4 separate regions of the Homo sapiens genome follow, and all the other regions are linked to region 1. Evidence: promoter capture Hi-C in human tissues and cell types (Jung and others, 2019). All regions are on one chromosome and are shown on one strand. The core of a region is centred on a gene start or on the middle of the fragment in contact, and the rest is flanking DNA. Distances in the headings are between cores, read along the strand shown. Region 1 holds the start of ADRA1A (adrenoceptor alpha 1A). Region 2 has its middle 47 kb from the start of MIR548H4. Region 3 has its middle 23 kb from the start of MIR548H4. Region 4 has its middle 28 kb from the start of MIR548H4.

Region 1 (5,048 bases), core at 937-3,436:
CATGTTGGGTCATTCTGATTAAACCACTTAGCTCAAGTGTAGTGCTCAAGACACTTAGCACATTCTCCAGCTGAATTTACCAGTGTTCATGGACTACCTGGGTTAGAAATATATTTCACTATAAAGTAGCATACAAAATGAGCAGAAAGGGAGTTAATAAGATTAATAATAGAGTTAGTGAATATTATGAGCTGAGTTTTTGAGAAACGTAATTTCTTTCAACACTAATAACAACCTTGTGGGGGTTCATTGTCTCCCTTTAAAAATTAGGAAACCAAGGCTTTGCCATGGTCGCATAGGAGGGTCAGAATAGCATCTTTATGACCCCAGAGCATACTCCTCTCCACTCCACCTACCCATGTGTACAACTCAGACACTTTCTGGGATGTCCACGTCAACTATTCTTTAAAGAGTAACCAACAGATGGATAGTTTTCTGTTTGTGAATCAATGGTAGGTGACTGAAAAATTGGTTCTGAGAGGTCGTTTTGCAAGGATTGATGGTCACAGGCTGAGAAGCAGATTTGAAAGACCTACCTGCTAGCAGCATGAAGAGCTGCTCTTCCTTATCTTAGTATTAACTAGTTAATTATTGGAGGTGGGTGCAGGGGTGGATTATGTGTATTCTTAATTGTTGTAGAGTGGGGACTGGGAGTTACAAAGACTTTTGCAATTTTCGACCTTGCAGAGCTGAGCAATTTTCAGTTGCTTTGCTTGCTGATAGCACTGCTTCCCTTATCTACCATGGAACACATCTTAATGAAGAATTTGCATTCACAGCATCAGGTTAATGAATACAAAACAAAACAGTGTATATCCCTCTGATGGATGGGATTTCGGAAGCACAGACATTATACACATATTTGATGATAAAGTACTAGAAGTGCAGGGAATTGAGGTCAAGCTTCCTCCTAAGGGGACTGAATCCCAGAGAGAGCAGGTGACTTAGTAATGAGAAGTGGAGCTGTCTGTTCAACCAGGATGCTCCTCCTATGGCACGAAATTCAGTTTTAAAAATATATTAAATTCAAATCAAATGTGTTAGGTGTGAGTTCTATCCCTACAGGTATGAGGCAGAGGTGGAGGACTTTGTATACAATAGAGAAATAAATACATATATTAGGTCTTCCATGACATAGGATTTACTGACCCTCTCATGGGCATTCCTCTGAGGCATTTTGAGATTTATTGCTATAAAAGAGCCTCCCAAACATTATCTCACTTAGAAAAGGTAATCATATTAATATGATTTTGTTCACAGGAGAGAATTTAAGTGCCACTGCTTAAAGTTATCTCCTTGTTCCTAGGTTTAAGGAGACCTAGTAAATAAGAACATTCCACTTTGTCTGCATCAATAAAGATGAAAGATGACTTAGGAGGTGGGAATTGGAGTGGGAAACATTTTTCTATGTTCCCGATATTCTGAAACACATGTGACTTTATTCAATCACAAGGTAAACAGATTATGTAATTTACCAGAAAAAAAGTAATAAGACTGGTGGTGCTAGGTTTTCATACTCCAGCTATTAATGAATTAAAGAGAGTAACACTCCTGAAAGGATACCATTTTCTCAAGAAAACTGGAAAAGATTGTGTGGCATTTAAAAAATACCAAACTCTGTGGCCATAATGCTCTTAAAATTCATCTGTCTAAAGAAATTAGAAGTGAATCATATTAAATAAGGTTTAGATATGTCCACTTTATCTTCCTGAAAATATAATTTCATTACAATCAGATTTGTCATATTTTATCTGATTTTACTTGCTATTTAAAACACCTTATAATTTACTTGCATATTTAGAATTACAATATTCTTAATATACTTCTTGATCTTAACAAAACCTAGGCCAAATGTTAATCAAATCAAGCTGTTCAAAGTTACTTTATAGCACATTCCTATGAACACACCATACACACAGCAATATCTAGCAAGGGTGTCAATTTTTCGTTATTTTTAAAAGCTCATTTAAAGAAGTTATTTACTACAAATGACTCTACACACACACACGCGCGCGCGCGCGCGCACACACACACACACACACACACAAACCTTTTTAAAGAAACGCTAGAACCCAACCCCCTCTAGGCCAGAGGAAAACATTACAGCTGTATACGCACTTGTGCCTGTTGCCGTAGAGTAATACGGTAGCAGCAGGAGATTACGGTACTAGCTGGGCTACTGCCTGAGTTACGTCAGCGAGAGCTGCAAAGTTCCTTGCTATTCTTTTCTGGTGTCGGGGAGCTGAATATTAAAAGGGTGATTGTGGAGTTACCGGTTATCTGCATTTTTTTTTCTTTTCTTATTTTGACTCTTTTTAAAAAATGCAGGTAAAGTGACAGCGGTTCAGGAGCTTAAAGACATCAGTGGTGGAGGGGTGAGTCAGCGGGTGCAAAAGGACAAGGATTTGGTGCCTCGGAGACACGGTCCCCTCTCCGCCTCCAGAGAAGAGCAGGCAGGCAGCTCCCGGGACCGAAGCCGGGTCCACATCCCCCGCGCGCGAGCTGGTGGCTCAGCAGCGGCGCTTCAGGTGAGTGCGCCGGGGCCGGCGTCCCGCAGGGCCGAGTGGGTGAGGGCAGACCTCCCCCGCCGTCTGGTGAGACGGAACCCCCACTTTTCCCAGCGCCTCCCGCTTTTTCCACCAGGTTTTATACCGGCCCCTCTACCCCACCCCCGATTCCCTTACATCTTCTGCGAAGTTGCCTTCTACTGAACAAGTGTCTTTTTAACCCTGTGTTTATCACCCTCGAGGTAGGAGGAAAAGGGTTTCTGCAGTGGCACGTTTTTAATACCACCTGTGAGGTCTCCAACTTGCGATTTTAACAAGAGTCTTTGCCCGAGGTCCCACCTCAGGGCCCAACCCCAGAAGGCAAGGTGGGCACTTCCTCACGCCGCGCTGTCCTGCCGAGTCCCTGCGGTAGGTTCGCAGTTGTGGAAACCCAGGTTTCTTACGCAGATGGTGGCCCCCAGCCCAGAAAATCGAAGGCGGCCCCTGCCCGCTGGCATGCCGGCTTAATGTTTACGCCTGCAAAATCCGCAGTGACTGTCACTTGCAAAGCTCCCTCTGCAGAGGGACGTCCTCCCCACCCCGTCCCCCGCCAGTCCCGCTACGGCTGGCAGCTGGAGCCCCTCGGGTGGCCAACAGTGAGGCTTGGAAAGGCGTCGTGGACAGACCTGGGTCGCTTTCTGTCTTCGGGTCCCTCCCGGCTTCGCTCGGGACCTGGCTCTCAAGCCAGCTTGGCTGGTGGACAGACCGGTGCGCTCTGCACACCCGAGTGCGAATTCCACCGGCGTGAGAGTGAGCGTGCTCGTGGTCCTGGCCCTGAGGTCCCTGGGTCGCAGCTGTTCCCTCTCCCAGGCCGCCCCCTCCAGGTGACTGCGAGGCAACCTGTTCTAACGGAAACCGAGTACATCCTCCAGAATTCCCCGGCTAGGATCCGTGCGACACACTCGCCAGCCGCAGTCGCCCCTCCGGGGCTTCGAGGATTTTAATTTCGTGGTACCTGCGCTCGAAATCCAGACTTCGAGCGCTGGAGCCTGGGGTTTTGGGGATTTGTTTTTTTGTTTGTTTTTCGCTTCGGATCCTGAACTCGGGCAGAGGTGACTCAGTAGAGTGCGCTAGGCAGGTTCCCAGTGGTGGGGGCGCGAGATGAGCTCCGAAGTCGCCTCCACCGCTGCCGGGCGAAGCAGCTTCTGGACCGCAGAACCAACCCGGCTCCCAACTGGTGTCCCCCAACCCGTCAAGCTCAGCACAGCCTCTTTCCCTGGGGCGCCTAGCTCAAAGCCGCCTTTCTCTTTGCGCTCTTTCAGGTGGACGCGGTCAAACGATGCCCCGCAGCCTCCTGGGTCTCAGCACATATTCCACACCTACGTCCCCTGACCTGTGCTCCTAGAAGCTGGAGAGAGCAGGAGCCTTCGGTGGGGCAGCTCAAAATGTAGGTAACTGCGGGCCAGGAGCAGCGCCCAACCTGTAGCGCTGCGCTACCCAACCATCGGTCCCTGCCTTTGAGCGTCGACGGCTGATCTTTTGGTTTGAGGGAGAGACTGGCGCTGGAGTTTTGAATTCCGAATCATGTGCAGAATGCTGAATCTTCCCCCAGCCAGGACGAATAAGACAGCGCGGAAAAGCAGATTCTCGTAATTCTGGAATTGCATGTTGCAAGGAGTCTCCTGGATCTTCGCACCCAGCTTCGGGTAGGGAGGGAGTCCGGGTCCCGGGCTAGGCCAGCCCGGCAGGTGGAGAGGGTCCCCGGCAGCCCCGCGCGCCCCTGGCCATGTCTTTAATGCCCTGCCCCTTCATGTGGCCTTCTGAGGGTTCCCAGGGCTGGCCAGGGTTGTTTCCCACCCGCGCGCGCGCTCTCACCCCCAGCCAAACCCACCTGGCAGGGCTCCCTCCAGCCGAGACCTTTTGATTCCCGGCTCCCGCGCTCCCGCCTCCGCGCCAGCCCGGGAGGTGGCCCTGGACAGCCGGACCTCGCCCGGCCCCGGCTGGGACCATGGTGTTTCTCTCGGGAAATGCTTCCGACAGCTCCAACTGCACCCAACCGCCGGCACCGGTGAACATTTCCAAGGCCATTCTGCTCGGGGTGATCTTGGGGGGCCTCATTCTTTTCGGGGTGCTGGGTAACATCCTAGTGATCCTCTCCGTAGCCTGTCACCGACACCTGCACTCAGTCACGCACTACTACATCGTCAACCTGGCGGTGGCCGACCTCCTGCTCACCTCCACGGTGCTGCCCTTCTCCGCCATCTTCGAGGTCCTAGGCTACTGGGCCTTCGGCAGGGTCTTCTGCAACATCTGGGCGGCAGTGGATGTGCTGTGCTGCACCGCGTCCATCATGGGCCTCTGCATCATCTCCATCGACCGCTACATCGGCGTGAGCTACCCGCTGCGCTACCCAACCATCGTCACCCAGAGGAGGGGTCTCATGGCTCTGCTCTGCGTCTGGGCACTCTCCCTGGTCATATCCATTGGACCCCTGTTCGGCTGGAGGCAGCCGGCCCCCGAGGACGAGACCATCTGCCAGATCAACGAGGAGCCGGGCTACGT
Region 2 (5,171 bases), core at 1,363-3,862, 230 kb before region 1:
TAAGTAGCAGACACAACATTCAGTACAAAGTGATACAACATCTTCCCAGGTCAAACAAGTTTCCGATAATGAAGAACTAACTGATGATAAACTCACAATCCAAAACTACAAAACACTAATAAATAACCCACCATGAACAAAAGCAGAGGAAACAGTCTCCTTTGGGGATTGAACTACAAAGGACTTGAAATAATAGAATCATCAGAAAATGACAATAAAACAAATATGTTTAAAATGAATAAACACAGAAATTAAAAAATAAAAAATATGAGTAAAGATTGAGGCACTATGCAATAATGACCAGAAGATTTGAAAAATGACCAAATGGAACTTCCAGAAATAAAAATGAAAAATGCAATATATGAATGTAATATTGAATAATTGGGTTAAACATTATATTAGGTACAGCTGATATGATTAATAAATGAAAAGAGAGATCTGAGCATATTATCTGGTGACAGCATAGAAGCGTAAAAATAAGAAAACGACTTAAGGGAATCTAAAATACATGAAGATGGAATCAACCTAAATGCCCATCAATGATAGACTGGATAAAGAAAATGTGGTACATGGCCGGGCATGGTAGCTCATACCTGTAATCTCAGCACTTTGGGAGGCCAAGGCAGGTGGATCACTTGAGGTCAGGAGTTCAAGATCAGCCTGGCTAACATGGAGAAACCCCATCTCTACTAAAAATATGAAAATTAGCTGGATGTGGTGTCATGAGCCTGTAATCCCAGCTACTTGGGAGGCTGAGGCAGGATAATTTGAACCCAAGAGGCAGAGGCTGCAGTGAGCCGAGAAATCTTGCCACTGTGCTTCAGCCTGGGTGACAGAGTGAGACTCTGTCTCAAGGAAAAGAAAAAAAGAAAATGTGGTACATATACACCATGAAATACTATGTAGCTATACAAAGGAATGAGGTAATATCCTTTGCAGGGACATGGGTGCAGTTGGAAGCCATTATCCTCAGCAAACTAATGCAGGAACAGAAAACCAAATACCACATGTTCTCACTTATAAGGGGGAGCTGAATGATGAGAACACAGGGACACATGGGAGGAACAACAATACTGGGGCCTGTTGGAGAGGGGGCCTGGGGGGAGGGAGAGCCTCAGGAAGAACAGCTAATAGATGCTGGGCTTAATACCTAGGTGAGGAGATGATGATCTGTGCAGCAAAGCCTCATGGCACATGTTTACCTAGGTAACAAACCTGCACATCTTGCACATGTATCCCTGAACTTAAAATAAAATTTGAAGAAAATTAAATTAATTTAAATACATGAAGAGATACTCCACTGCATTCTGTCACATAGGATGCAGCATAATTGTTTATCCAGATTGCTATGATGAACAGTTAGATTGCTATGATTATCTGTTAAGATTCTCAGAGAACCTCTGAGAATTGTTGTGTATGTGTGTGTGTGTGTGTGTGTGTGGTGCATGTGTGTGTGTAATTATAGCTATGGTGTAAATATTTGTGTTCCCCAAATTCCTATGTAAAAACCTGATCACAGTGTAAAGGTATTAGGAGATACGGCCTTTGTGGGGTGATTAGGTCATGAGGACTGTACTCATGAATGGGATGAGTAGATTAGTGCCCTTATAAACCTTATAAAATAGCCCCAGAGAGCAGCCTTGCCCCTTCCACCATGTGAGGACACAGTAAGAAGGTGCCGTCTATGACAAAGCAGGCCCTCATCAAACACCAATCTACCAGTGCCTTGACCTTGGACTTTCCAGCCTCCAGAACAGTGAGAAATAAATGTTTGTTATTTATAAGTTACCCAGTCTACGATATTTAATTAGAAGAGCCCAGACAGACCAAGACAGATATATAAAAGGAGATTTGTTATAGGAATTGGATCACATGATTATGAAAGCCAAGAATTCCTACAATCTTCTGCCTGCAAGCTGGAGAACAAGAGAAGGCAGTGGTATAATTCTGCCCAAGTCCAAAGGCCTGGGAGTCAGAGAGTAATAGTGTAAATCTAGGTCTGAGTTCAAAAGCCTGAGAATCAGGAACATGGATGTCCAAGGGCAGGAGAACATGGATGTCACAGCTCAAGCACAGAGAATGAGCTAGCCCTTTCTCCACCTTCTTGTTCTATGCAGACCCTCAATAGGTTGAATGACGCACACCCTTACTGGGGAGAACCATCGGCTTTACTCAGTTCACCAATGCAAATCCTGATATTTTCTAGAAACATCCTGATGGACACACTCACAAATATGGTTTTACCAGGTACCTAGGTGTCCTGTTGAAGTGGTGTTGTTCGTCTGGAGTAATACTCAAGGTTTATTGTCCCGTGTCAAGGAAATCAAGGACATGGACACATAAGGAATAAGGTTGAGAATGGGGGTTTAACAGGTGAAAGAAAGAGAAAAGTTCTCTCCTGCAGAGAGATGGGGGTCCTGAATGGGTCCTCCGGTCCGATGTTAAGTGCAGGAGGTTTTACAGATGAGGTTGAGGAGGCAGTGTCTGATTTACATAGGGCATGAAAGGTTGGTGGGACCAGGTGTGCCATTTGAATAGTGCTCAAAGAACTGGTTAGGACTAGGTGTGCTGTTTGCATAGTGCACGAAGAAGCTGGCTGCCCCACCCTAATTTTTTTTTTTTGAGACAACTCTCACTCTGTCACCAGGCTGGAGTGCAGTGGCGTAATCTCTGCTCACTGCAACCCCCGCCTCCCAGGTTCAAGTGATTCCCTGCCTCAGCCTCCCAAGTAGCTGGGACTACAGGCGCGTGCCACCACACCCGTCTAATTTTTTTGTATTTTTAGTAGAGATGGGATTTCACTATGGCCAGGCTGGTCTCGAACTCCTGACCTCGTGATCTGCCTCCTCGACCTCCCAAAGTGCGGGGATTACAGTTGTGAGCCACGGTGCCTGGCCCACTCTAATCTTTTATTATGCAGATGGGTTCTCTGCCTGACTGGCACCATGTTGCCTGCCTCTTTACTGTACCTGTGGTGACAAAGAAAACGGATGATGGAGCTTCCATGTTGGATATGCCCAGCCCTCAGGTGGCCTTTTCCTATTGGTACAGCTGCTGGCATTCATCCACGCAAGTTTCCAGCTTGCATATCTATGTTTGCAGCTCGATTTTTCAGGCTGCTCTTTGTTAGAAAAAAGAAAAAATGATTTGGGGGCTGCTTTTTGTTAAAAGGGAAGCCTTGCCCAGGACTCCTTTACCCTCATTATCTCCCTAAGTAACTCCTTTCTAGCTCCTGTATCACTATAGGCCAGTCAAATTGATACATAAAATTAACCAATGCAGGTTGTTTCTAAAATTTTTTGGTTCTACAAAGAATTATGCAAAAAATAACATTGCACAAACATAATTTTACCTACGGGCATGAACATAATTTCACTAATTCAATGCATATTTATTTTTATATGTCAGGCACAATTTTAGGCACTTGTGTGTGGACACAGTAAAATAAATAAATAAAACCAATCCCTTGCCCTCGTGGAGCTGATACTCTAACTGATGAGACAGATAAACAACAAATAAAAAGTAAAATATCGTATGTCAAATAGCAGTAAGTTCTATTGAGAAAAATAAAGCAGGATGAGGGTGAGAGAATTTTGGTGGTAATGCCAGCTATTTTATGTAGGATTATAAAAAATATTCTTGAGAAGAAAAGTGAATAAGTCATGCAGATATATTGGTGAGTACTTTGCAGACAGAAACAACTGCAAAATCCCTAAGATGGACAGAAGAGAGCAAGGAAGGGAGTGACAGGAGGTGAAGTGAGGAGAGCAAGGTGATAAACCTCATGGAGCGTGGTAGGATTGTGCAAGCACTTTGACTTTTACTTTGAATGAGGAAAGAAGGTATTGGAAAGTTTCAAGCAGTATGATGATTTTCAAAGGTCATTCTATGAGTATATGTATATTGTGAATTCCTAGAAGTGAAATGGCTTGGTAAAGAGTATATGACCTTATAATTTTGAAATATATTGTCAAGTTGTTGTCCATATTAGTTGTAAAGCTTAAACTTCCACTGGAAATTTACAGCACATTTATCAACAAAATGTTGATTATTTTGTTGATAAACAAAAACTATTAACAACAAAAATAGAAAAAAACCTGACATAATGTTTTAAAAATACTAATAGGCAATAACAATCAAGTTTGAATTCTGTACCCAGCTGGAATGTCACTAAAGAATATCTGCAACATAAAAAATACTTTTAGACAAGGAAGTGCTAAGTATTTATTATTAACAAACAATCACTTTAAAAAGTTCCAAAATGTGCTTTAGAAAGAAGATTAAATCTAGGAGAAGAGAATTAAGGGATGCTGAACAAAGAAATAGTAAACACGTGAGTAAATTAAAAGAAGTATTTACACTAAGACAGTAATAATGGTGATAATGAGGATAGTAGTGATAATAAATATTTTGGAATTATAAAACCAAGTATTCATGAAATATTTTATAACAGTGTTCTGAAGAATGGTGAGGATAAATGCAAAGGGGGGAATTGAAATGGAAGTATTCTAAAATCCTTATGCTCACCGGGAAGGTAAAGATATAGACTAAAATTAAATGTTGAAAAGTTAAGTACATGGGAAAAATTAGATAACCAGTTAAAGAATAGAAATAGAACATCTAACATTCAAATCTGATGAAAAAAATGTGGATCAACCAAATAGAAGGAAAAAAAGAGAAAGCTGTAGCTTAGTGAATCATGGCTAATGGAAAGCCAAAGTAAGGTGATAGAAATACATCTAAATACAGAAAAAAACCCACAAGTACATCAGCTTTTTGAAGTATTGGCTTTTGATCATTCTGTAGTACTTAGCTTTCATCTACGCTGAGGGACCACTCTATGACTATAAGATTGCTGGTGTCTAATAATTCCATCTCAGATAACATGCACAGTACCACAGTTAGCAAGTTAATCATGAACTAGGTACACCTCTCAGGATCTTTTTAGTTCTTTATCTTCTTTAATTCCTGCAACACCCTTCATAATAGGATATTAGATGAGAATGCTGTGTCTCAGACAGTTTGGCTTATGCGATTTAAATTCAGAATAGCTCACCCTTAGTTCTCGCCAATATCCACAGCTGCCTTTCCTCTTTGACTCACTTCTCTAATATTTTTTATTTTAGTCAGCATTATTGTGCCAAGCTCTTTTTAGTCTGGTTCAGGTTTTT
Region 3 (5,048 bases), core at 893-3,392, 160 kb before region 1:
ATGAACACACGGAATCTCTTTGAAATCACTCTTGGATGAAATATTCCAGCAAAAAAGAACGCATCCAGGAGGCACAAAGAAATCTACTGTATACAGGAAGTAAAGAAGAGTAAATAACCGAAGACTATTGGTGGTTTTCTAAATGAGTGTTGGCATACCAGATGAAGGCCAAGGTAGAATAATTTGGATAAGAATTGAAAATTACTAGAATGGCAAGAATCAGAAATGTTGCATTTCTATACTTTCAAAATACTTTTGTATTTTTGTCATGTATTTTCGTCAGGTTCATGATTCCCAAAACTTGAGTGGATTACATTGACTTGAAAGTGAGAATTCAATGGACAGGTGGATGCAAAAAAAGGGAAGAACAATGTGGGCTGGTGGCTGTGATTTAGTTTTAAAATGTGTACCACTTTGATAATTTGTAGATTTGTAAATCTAGAGAATAACTTTACACTTTCGCTGAAAACCATCACGTCAGGGGCCACAGTAGCTGGAATTGACATCGGCTATAGATGCCTGACTTACTTTCTCCCTTGCCTAAATTCTGAGCATAGTAAGTGCTGAAGAAACCTCCCAGTATTTCATCTTAACCCATTAGTATAAAGTAAAGGTTTGCATTGTAGAATTATCAATTTCCTCTGTGAGGATCATTCCTTAGAACATTGCAAGCTATCATCACACCTGATGATCAGATTTAATCACGTTTCAAACACAAGACATCAGTCCTAAGGTGAAAATGTCACACAGGCAGGGTCATCATAATATGGCTTCATCCTTCAGTTCTAAATTTTACGAGATAGGGGTGCCATTGGATATTTTTCTTCAAGCCAGAAAAATAATACATTTGTGCTATGTATTTATAATAAGCTTTCTGATGCCACAGAGAAATGCAACATGTAGTTTTAGTCCACTACACTGAAACAGAATATTTACATTGTCTATATAAGAGTTATTTTTTTAACTTCCAAAGTATTTTGAGGTTCAAGCCCATACTTACATTCTATTAACTATCATTTTAGACTATAGTTTATTACCTAAAAAAGAAACCCATACTTCATACGGAATACCTAGAAAATACAAGACTGGAAAAAAGCAAAAGTTAATGCTAACCATTCAACATTTTTCTTGATTCCCTTGAATTTTTTCATTAGTGCTGTCATTGAAAGCAATATTAAGTAGTGTAAGACTAGAGCTAAGATTCAGATTCTCTTCAGCAAATTTCTAGCCCAACACCTACTTCTGAGATCTTGGATGTGCCATCTGACTTCTCTAAGTCTTGGAGAGTTTATCTTTCAGAGGGTAATGATTATAATGTTACCTGCCTCATTAAATTGATGTGTGGATGAAGTGAGAAGAGGCAGTGAAGCATTTAACTCCATGTCTGGTGCTTAGAAATGTTCAGTTAATGCTTATTAACATTAATACAATTATTACTTAAACATAGATTCTTGATAAAAGTAAGAATTCCTGGCGATTGTGCCTCATAGCCCAGATTTCTCTTGAATCTTCTCACTAAACCTAAGTCAGTAACTATGGCCAAGTTTGTGTCAAAGACACTGTTGACATTAAAATATTATTTTTGTTTTCTGTTTCAAAGTAGAAATTTCGATATATCAACTTTGAAGACTACCAGAGAAGCAGAGTTACCTGAAACTGCATTTTAGGTCATTTAAATAGAATCTTAAAAAATTGAGATGTGGCCAGGCGCGGTGGCTCACGCCTGTAATCCCAGAACTTTGGGAGGCCGAGACAGGAGGATCACAAGGTCAGGAGTTTGAACCTAGCCTGACCAACATGGTGAAACCCCGTCTTTACTAAAAATACAAAAAAATTAGTTGGGTATGGTGGTGCGTGCCTGTGATCCCAGATACTCGGGAGGCTGAGGCAGGAGAATCACTTGAACCCGGCAGGTAGAGGTTGCAGTGAGCCGAGATTGTGCCACTGCACTCCAGCCTGGGTGACAGAGCAAGACTGTCTCAAAAAAAAAAAAAAAAATTGAGATGTGATTAACACACAATGAAAAGTACAGGTTTTAGATGTTCAGTTATTCAAAGAGTATTGACAATTGTGTATATCCAAGTAACAAGATATAGAACACTTCCACCCCCATAAAAAGTTCCCTGGTGTTTCTTTCAGTCGAATCCCTACACTGTGGAGCATTCATTGTGCAGATGTCAACCACTGCCTATGTTCCATCTACATGGCTTAATTTTGTCTGTATTTGGATTTCATATACATGGCTTTAGACAGTATATACTCTTCTGTGTGTCTGGCGTCTTTTGCTTAGCATAATGTTTTTGAGATTCATCAAATATCAAAATTAGATGTATCATCCATGATACTTTCAATTATTCAATGTTTAGCAAGCGGAGGGAGGAGGGTCAAAAAGGCACACGGCATAGATTGGAAAGACCTGAGTTGAAATTCTGACTCCTTTTAGTTGTGCAATCTTGAACAAATGATGCAATCTCAGTACTGGCTCTTTGGACAAATCGCTCTAAACCTCAAGTTCCTCCACTTAAAATGACTAAAAATACCACTTCATAAGGTTGTTGTCAAAATTAAGATAAAACAAGTGAGAGCAAGGCGCTAGACACATAACAGTTGTTCTGAAAAAGCTTTGTTCAATCTGAATACAGCAAGCCAAAGATATTGACTAATCACATCTCCTTGACCAACCACAGCAGAGATGAAAAGATGCAGAAACTGGTTTTCTCCATCAAACATGATGACATAAACCTTATTTTCTCCCCTGGAATATGGTTTCAAGGTTTTAAAGAGATTATGTTTAAGAATATATAATCTCAGAATTGAGACAAACAAACAAGCAATTAAACAGATAAAGCCAGAGGCAAGGCTCAGGCTGGGATTCCTGTGTACTTCGTTGTGGGAATCCTGACCATTTCCATTTGTCTTTCCTCAGGAAGGATGGAATTAATTTTAGAGGTTTAAAGATTAATTAATTCCTGCTACGTTAAAATCTCATGGTGTTCTTCGGCAAGATGTTATAACTCAAGCAAAAATCTTTTGCAAGAGAGTGAAGCAGAACCAGTGTATCTAGTGGTGTTAAAACAAAACGATAGACAAGGAAACATCATTTTTCTGCCTGCTTCAGTCAACTCACAGAAATTCTTCTTGTACACATCAATTATTTTACAGTGCGGGGAATTAAAGAATTTAACAATCATTTCCCATTATTTGTGCTGCTCTTTAAGAAATACGGGGCCTATCCTGGTCAATACAAGAAGATCCTATCTCCACAAAAAATTTAAAAATTAGCTAAGCGTGTGGGTGCATGCCTGTAGTCCCGGCTACTCGGAAGGCTGAAGTAGGGGTATCATTTGAGCCCAGGAGGCAAAGGTTGTGCGAGCCGAGGTCATGCCACTGCACTCCAGCCTGGGTGAGAGAGTGAGACCCTGTCTCAAAAAAAAAAAAAAAAAAAAGGTGGGGTGGTGGTTTTGGGCCACTGTAAAAGCTACTTTGGGAATGAAAGTGGTTTTTGGAAACATTGAACATTTAGACACCTTGGTGTACATGGAGATTTTGTTATCATCTGGTTTGATGTGACAGCTGCAGGTACCATTTATCTGAGACATTTCTCCATTGATAATGCTTGGACTAGGCAGCTTTTAGTGAAAAATAAAATTACTAAAGCAATCATCTTTCTTCTTGTGGTGAATTTTACATGAATAGAAACAGGTAATACAAGTCAGCTGCTTTCTTAATACTTCTAAATGGTGTTGACCTTATAGAAATCTAATTATAATTTACATTTATAAACCATAATGAACCTATTAGGAGGCTGTAGCATAGATAAAGACATGAAAGTATTTTCTCTCAAATAAGATGGGCAAAACTAAAGAAAATAAATATGCCCATGATTAAAATAATACTTTCATCTTTGTCATTTTTTAGATTTCATATATATTTTTCATTTATTTATAAAATAATTCTGTAATATAGGTAGAGTTTAAATTATGGTCTACACTATATGGAGAAACTTGGACTAAGACTTTTGGAATGACTAATATTAGAAGAAATGATTCTTTTTCCCAGATGTTACCACTATCTCAAATTTGTATGGTCCCTCATTGTTTATGAGGCACTTAGACAGATGTTACCTGCTAAGGCAGAAACTCAAACCAGTTTCATCCAAAAATAAGGGAATTCATTGATTCCCATAACTAGAAAAACCAGATGACAGAGTCCAAACTGAATCCGACTCCATGTAGCCTAGGTATTTTGCTTCTTTTACTTGGCTTAGCACCCCTGTTCTGGGTTCTCATTTCTTGCCTCTGCAGATGGGCTTCCTCCGTATGGCCAGGAAGGCATCACTTCCTTCCGGCACTCAGATGGCAGATGCCAGGGGCAATCTTACTCAGTTGCTCCAGCCGAAAACTCCCGAGGCCTTGTTTGGGTCACATGACAATTCTGGAGCCATTTCCTGAGACTTCAGGTGTAGGAAGTGCCAACTGGCTCATGTAGGCCCAACTGTCTCAATGTGCTAGTGGGGGACAGTGCACACGATTGGCCACATGTTTTGGGAGAGGATAATGACCTCAAGAAAATATTAAGGGTTGGCCGGGCACAGTGGCACACACCTGTAATCCCAGCACTTTGGGAGGCCAAGGCAGGTGGATCACTTGAGGTCATGAGTTTGAGACCAGCCTGGCCAACATGGCGAAACCCTGTCTCTACTAAAAATGCAAAAATTAGTCAGCTGTGGTGGTGCATGCCTGTAGTCCCAGCTACTCTGGAGGCTGAGGCAGGAGAATCGCTTGGACCTGGGAAGCAGAGGTTGCAGTGAGCCGAGTTCATGCCACTGCACTCCAGCTGGAGCAACAGACTGAGTAAAACTCTGTCTCAAAAAAAAAAAAAAAAAAAAAAGAAAGAAAAGAAAAGAAAATATTAAGGGTTATGTTGGCCAATGATAAAGGTTTCCTATATACTAGCATAGAAATAAAGACAGCCTGCTCAATGGGCCAGATTAGAACATCTAGAAATAGATGCATGTATATATAAAGATTTATTATAAGATTTTTCTG
Region 4 (5,589 bases), core at 285-2,784, 210 kb before region 1:
AGGCCTAATTAAGATACGGATGCTGTAAAGTTTGTATCATTAATTAGGCATCAAATCATTTTTACAAAGGAAAAGAGCAGAGTGTTCGGAGGGTGAAGAAGGTGGAGGTGGGGCAGGGGATGTTGCCCACTCTGAGGGCTGGGGAGAGAAGTCTACTTTGGGGTCGGCAAGCGAGCAGAGCAGAGCTGGTGACACTCCTGGCTTCAAAGTCCACATATGCTGCCTGTCTCCTCCTGGCCAACTCTTTCATTTCTGCTCCGGAGCCACTGGGGGCACTTCAAAGATCAGCAGCTCTGAGCATGGGGAGGTGGTGCTGTTGGACATCATTACCAGACTTTCCAAATGCCTGTTCCAAACGGTACAGTGCGGAGGTTCTCCAAGGCAGCGCTGTCGGTAGGAGATATCAGCAGGCATGCAACAGGGCTAAGGCGGGCACCAGTGGAGCTGAACCAGTCATATGGGAACACTAGCGGGGCGTCTCCCTGAAGATGCCAGGGGGTGAAGCCCTGCCTTGGTTGGGGAAGGCTTGGAGCTGATTCCATTTGGACATTCATGTTGCATGTCCTTACTTGCATGCACTTGAAGCCTGCTGATGTCCGGGGCCGTTTGGGTTACACAAATAAATAAGCATTGTGCAAGTTTTTCTGTTGACTGTGGCCGTTTTCATAAAAGCTTCAATTTCTTCCATCTATGCCTAAAATCTATAGAGAGTTAAAGCATAAACCAGTCCTTGGACCCTTTCCCATTTGTTTTTTCCTCGAAGTGTGTAACATCTGATAATTGCCTTTTTTCCCCTCAGTATATTATTAAGAATTGATTACTGTGTTTTTCATTTTTAGCATGTATTTTGTGTTTCTGGCCTAAAATTGTTATGATACTATATATTTCTGGAGAAGGATTCATTTTTAAATCTAGCCTCTGGAAATATGAGACCTTTTTGGTATTTTGGGGTCTTTATATGAACAAGATGTCAAATTCTTGATTTCATTATATCATTGAAGGCCTGGGAATGGCTGGCTTTGTGAGCCATAATAAAGATCTGGTTTTCTTTAAAAAGGAAAGACAGAAGAACCAGAAATTATTCTTATGCAGTTTTACATGAGACTTCTGATTTCTTCCATATTTGAAATTTACCAGATATTCTCAGCAAAAATGTGCTCTATTTACGAGAACGAGGCTGATGAACTTGGAGAGATAATATTACCTTATTTATAGAAGTCAGCTCTGATTGTATCAATTTTACTGATGTGTGTGTTTATATATATATTATACTTAATAATGTTTCATATAATATATTATTGCAGGAAGCAAATTTTCTAATTTTATTTACTATGTATAAAGACTATTGAATACTATAGTGTATAATAAAATATTATAGTATATAATATAGTCAACATTTTTACAATATATATTTACTACATTATTCACTGTGTATAGTATATATAAATTGGCTATATATGTTATTTATTACATACAAGAATATTATAATATTTAACACATGTATAATACTTATTACATATTAAATAAAATGGGGGGGGGGTGTTATTCCTGGAAAAGAAAATTTAAACCACTACCCAGATACTGTGATTAATTAGTGATTTTCCTCTTGCCTTTAATCTTGAACAGTTACTATGTGTGTTCATGTGAAAATGGCCAAGTCATGGACTATTAATATAGGCAAATAATATGACTTGTGGAAAAGGTGCATTTAAGGAATACTGTTTCTGGAGCGATACAAGCTGATGCAAGCAGAGTTAACGTTCAGGGTTGTCCTCAAATACCAGGTGACATGACCTGATCATGCCCTCCCACCTTCTCATCCGGGATGGCCACTGGCTGGTAACCTGCTCTACCCATGGGCTCTTCTGCCTCTCGCTAGCTGCTCCTGATGGGAGGATCCCCTGCCCCCGAGCAGCCCCACTATGAAGCCAACATTTTAGAAAGATCAGAAACGACCTCGTATGACAACGGCTCAGATGCAGCACAATCTTTCAAGGTGGATGGCAGATGTGTCTTCTACATAAACATTCCCATTCCCTCTAACGAGGTGTGTCTTCCTTGTGTCCTAGCTCTATGTCAGGTTGCTTTTATTTTTCTCATGGCACTTAGGATTGGTGAGCTTTTGAAGAGTAGAAAATTAATTATCTTTGAAAAGTAATTCCTCACCACCTACCCCCGCAATGCCCTGCCAGGTAATACAGAAGTGGTTTTGAATGAATTAATGGAACAAAGTGTCAAGTAGGATCTGTGGGGTTTTTTTGTTTTTTGTTTTGTTTGGTTTCTTAATCATGCATTACCTGAGCACCACTTTGGTGGATAAAAGTTCTCTTCTGCGTCTTTGTCAAGGGGACAAGCCACAATACTGGGAACTGATCTTGTAATTTGATGCTGGTTTTTCTCTCTGAAGGATACTATTATCATTGATGTTTATTCTTCTTCCTCCTCCTTCTCCCCATCCTTGTTCTTCCTTCTCTCTCTCTCTCTCTGTCTGTCTCCTCTCTCTTTCTCTCTTCCTTCTTCTCTCCCTCCCTCTCGGGTTGCCAGATAAAATTCAGGACCCTCAATTACATTTTAATTTCAGATAAACAACGAATATTTTCTTACTATAAGCATGTACCAAATATTGCATAGGACATACATATACTAAAAATATTCATTGTTTAATGAAAATTAAATTTAACTGCATATTCTTTATTTTTACTTGCTAAATCTGGCAATCCTACCTCTTTGAACTTTTTTCGGTACCTTAAAGAATAGAAAAAACGACTCTATGGAAACCTTCCTGCCTTTGGCCCTATTATCAAAGCCCCAAATCTACCATATTCTTAAAAGTTCCTGAGAAAAGAAGGCACACATTGTAAATAACACTGGGCAATGAAATCAGAGGTCTTCTAGTTCTAACATCAGGAACATAACACACACACCACGCTCTTTTTTTTTTTCTTTGCATTTTAAAAGGGAGAATTACACAGCTGAAAGAGAAGCAAGGTAGCATTAACTTTCCTAAGAAGGACTGTGTGGCACCCAGTTTAGAAAAATAGTCAGTAAGAGAAATTCAATAGGGAGGCATTTTTCTTGCAGTTGATAATTTTTCTCAGGCACCCTGTGGATGGCACCCAGGAGAATTTGGAAGATTTAGAGTTACTATACAAGGGCCATCTCGAGGATGGTATTTGACCTTTCTTCTTTTGTTATCATTGCAAGGACAGCTTTATCTTTTAAAAATATTTTTACTTTTTTTAATTTTCAGAGACAGGGTCTTGCTCTGTCACCCAGGCTGGAGTGCAGTGATCATAGCTCACTGTAACCTTGAATTCCTTGGCTCAAGTGATTCTCCCACCTCAGCCTCCCAAGTAGCTGGGACTATAGGTGCACACCATCACACCCAACTTAAATTCTCCTTTGTAGATGCAGGTTCTCGCTTTGTTGCCCAGGCTGGTCTCAAACCCCCTTCGCCTCAAGAGATCCTCTGGTCTCCACCTCCCAAAGTGCTGGAATTACAAGCATGAGCCACCACACTAGCCAGCCTTATCTTAATATGAGAAAAACTGAAACTATAACAGTGCCATGTTTTCATATTTGTCATGTTGATTTTTAAAAGGTGTGCATTTCTAGAATGCTGTCTCACTTTGGGCAGATAGAGGACAGCATTTAAGCTTTTCATCCAGCAAAGAGAACAGAAAGGAGGCTTCCCTGGAGCCAGAAATTCAGCGTTCCAGCTCAGCAGTGCTGCTAACTGGTTGCGAGATCTTAAATGTAACAGGCAGTGTCTCTGATCCCTACAAGGGAGTCAGTATGAGATCTCTCAGGTCTTTTCTTGTTCACAGTCCTATGATTTCCAGAATGATTCAGAAACATTCATGGCATGTGTCCTTCATGAAATACTCCCTTCCATGTTGCTGGGGTTCCTGGCTTATTTCCTATCTCATCTGCGTCTCTCCCCTTTGCTCTGCATATTCAACAGTAGGGAAAAGTTCTGTGGAAAGCCCCTGAAATAGCAACAGCCAAGGAGCCGACATGGAGTCCACTCGGCTCCACTGGGCCCAGACCCTGCCAAATACTTGTCGTCAAGTCACCAGTCGTACATGGGAAGGGACCAGTGCTCAGCGGCTGTGGCTTAGACTTGTAAGTGATGTTATTAGCCTCCTCAGAGAACCAGTGCCAATGAGGAAGTTGCTCAGAGAGCCCCTAGGAAACCAAAACACTAGCTAAAGAAAAAGGCTGGCTTGGCCAGCAGCCGATTAACCGCTTGTGTTCTGGCTGGGGTGCGGGTGGAAGGGTGCGTGGCGGTGCCCTCTCCATCCTGATTCCCAGAGCCCTCCAGCTCCCATGGCAACTCTTAGGGGTCCTTGAAAGAACTCTTAGCCTGGACAATTTGTATCAATTTTGTGCCCAGAATCAGTGTTGGGCACCACCCCAAATTCAAAAGGTGGTAGAATTCTAGACCTTGAACATTGACGGCTGGTGTCCAGAAGTAAACTTTTGATGAAAATCCTGTGATTGGCTTTACATTCCGGGCCTTGAAATCACGGTACTGAACATGGAATAAATGAACCCTTAGTAGAGGACTTGCTCAAGAAGAAAGTGGTTTCTGGTGATTGGTATCTAGGAATAGGAGTTCATGGTAACTGTTTCCAGCTTTATCAGTCACTGGACAGAAACCCTTGGAAATAAAGGTGGTTCTTCCTCTATATGATGGTGGTTTGTAACTTTTTATGAATCCAGTTTTGTAAAAGTCCTAATGGGGACAAATATTCTTTGAAATACAGAATTATATATTACCCTGAATTCACTGTATTAAGTCTCTTAAAACTAACCTTACATACACTTTTTTCTAACACTAAAATCTGGGATGTAAATGTGTTCTGAAATATGGGCTGCAGTTTCCATGAAGAGATAAAAAAATTCACATCTTCAAAGATATGCCATCTGCAATAAAAATCACAAGGTCACCACATTTAGGAATGCAATGCTACTGTAATTTCAGTTAAAGGAGGAAAATAATATAGCCATTCTTTCTCATGGTGCTTGCAGTTTACAGAGGGCTCTTCCTTGTATCAGTTTATTTTAAGTCTGCTAACATATCTAAAAACCTGTGATCCTCCAAACTTTGCACCCGGCATAGAAAATATGAAGGTGACTAAGAAAACTCATCAAAGTGGGTTATTGTCCTTTGGGATGGACAATACAACATGAACAGATAATTAAAATACAGTGCCCTAGATGAGAGCTATGTGTGCTGTGCAGAGAAAAAAGCAAGAGGAACCCCTAATCTAGGTGGGGTGGGGCTAAGACTTTCTGAGGAGATTATTCCATTGAGAACTTATAATAATGCTAATATTCCTTATTTATTTAATTTATTTTTTAGGGCAGGGTCTCACTCTGTTGCTGGGGCTAGAGTGCAGTGGTGCCATCATGGCTCACTACAGACTCAACCTCCTAGGCTCAAGTGATCCTCTCACTTCAGCCTCCCAAGTAGCTGGGACTACAGGCACAAACTTTCACATCTGGCTAATTTTTTGATGTTTTGTTGAGACAGGGTCTCGCTATGAGGCCCAAGCTGGTCTCAAACTCCTGAGCTCAAGCCAT

Evidence for each region. Contacts are between HindIII fragments. The study calls those that stand out against the background at their distance.
Region 2: a contact is called between a fragment that was not itself captured here and the fragment with the promoter of ADRA1A in region 1, in 1 of the 25 tissues and cell types used here (stomach).
Region 3: a fragment that was not itself captured here is called in contact with the fragment with the promoter of ADRA1A in region 1 in 2 of the 25 tissues and cell types used here (dorsolateral prefrontal cortex and hippocampus).
Region 4: a fragment that was not itself captured here is called in contact with the fragment with the promoter of ADRA1A in region 1 in 5 of the 25 tissues and cell types used here (dorsolateral prefrontal cortex, heart left ventricle, hippocampus and 2 more).

The regions. Positions count from the first base shown.
Region 1 is chr8:26,864,416-26,869,463 of GRCh38, reverse strand. It overlaps ADRA1A (adrenoceptor alpha 1A), which reads left to right and starts at 2,186. Exons shown (of 3, transcript NM_000680.4): 1 at 2,186-2,528; 2 at 3,809-5,048. The coding sequence starts at 4,495. RefSeq lists an enhancer at 2,965-3,916. The HindIII fragment of the contact is 8,811 bases long and covers 1-5,048 here.
Region 2 is chr8:27,093,095-27,098,265 of GRCh38, reverse strand. No RefSeq gene overlaps it. Among named protein-coding and RNA genes, the nearest start is that of MIR548H4, 47 kb to the right of the region's middle. The HindIII fragment of the contact is 7,720 bases long and covers 1-5,171 here.
Region 3 is chr8:27,023,039-27,028,086 of GRCh38, reverse strand. No RefSeq gene overlaps it. Among named protein-coding and RNA genes, the nearest start is that of MIR548H4, 23 kb to the left of the region's middle. The HindIII fragment of the contact is 4,096 bases long and covers 95-4,190 here.
Region 4 is chr8:27,073,838-27,079,426 of GRCh38, reverse strand. No RefSeq gene overlaps it. Among named protein-coding and RNA genes, the nearest start is that of MIR548H4, 28 kb to the right of the region's middle. The HindIII fragment of the contact is 6,468 bases long and covers 1-4,768 here.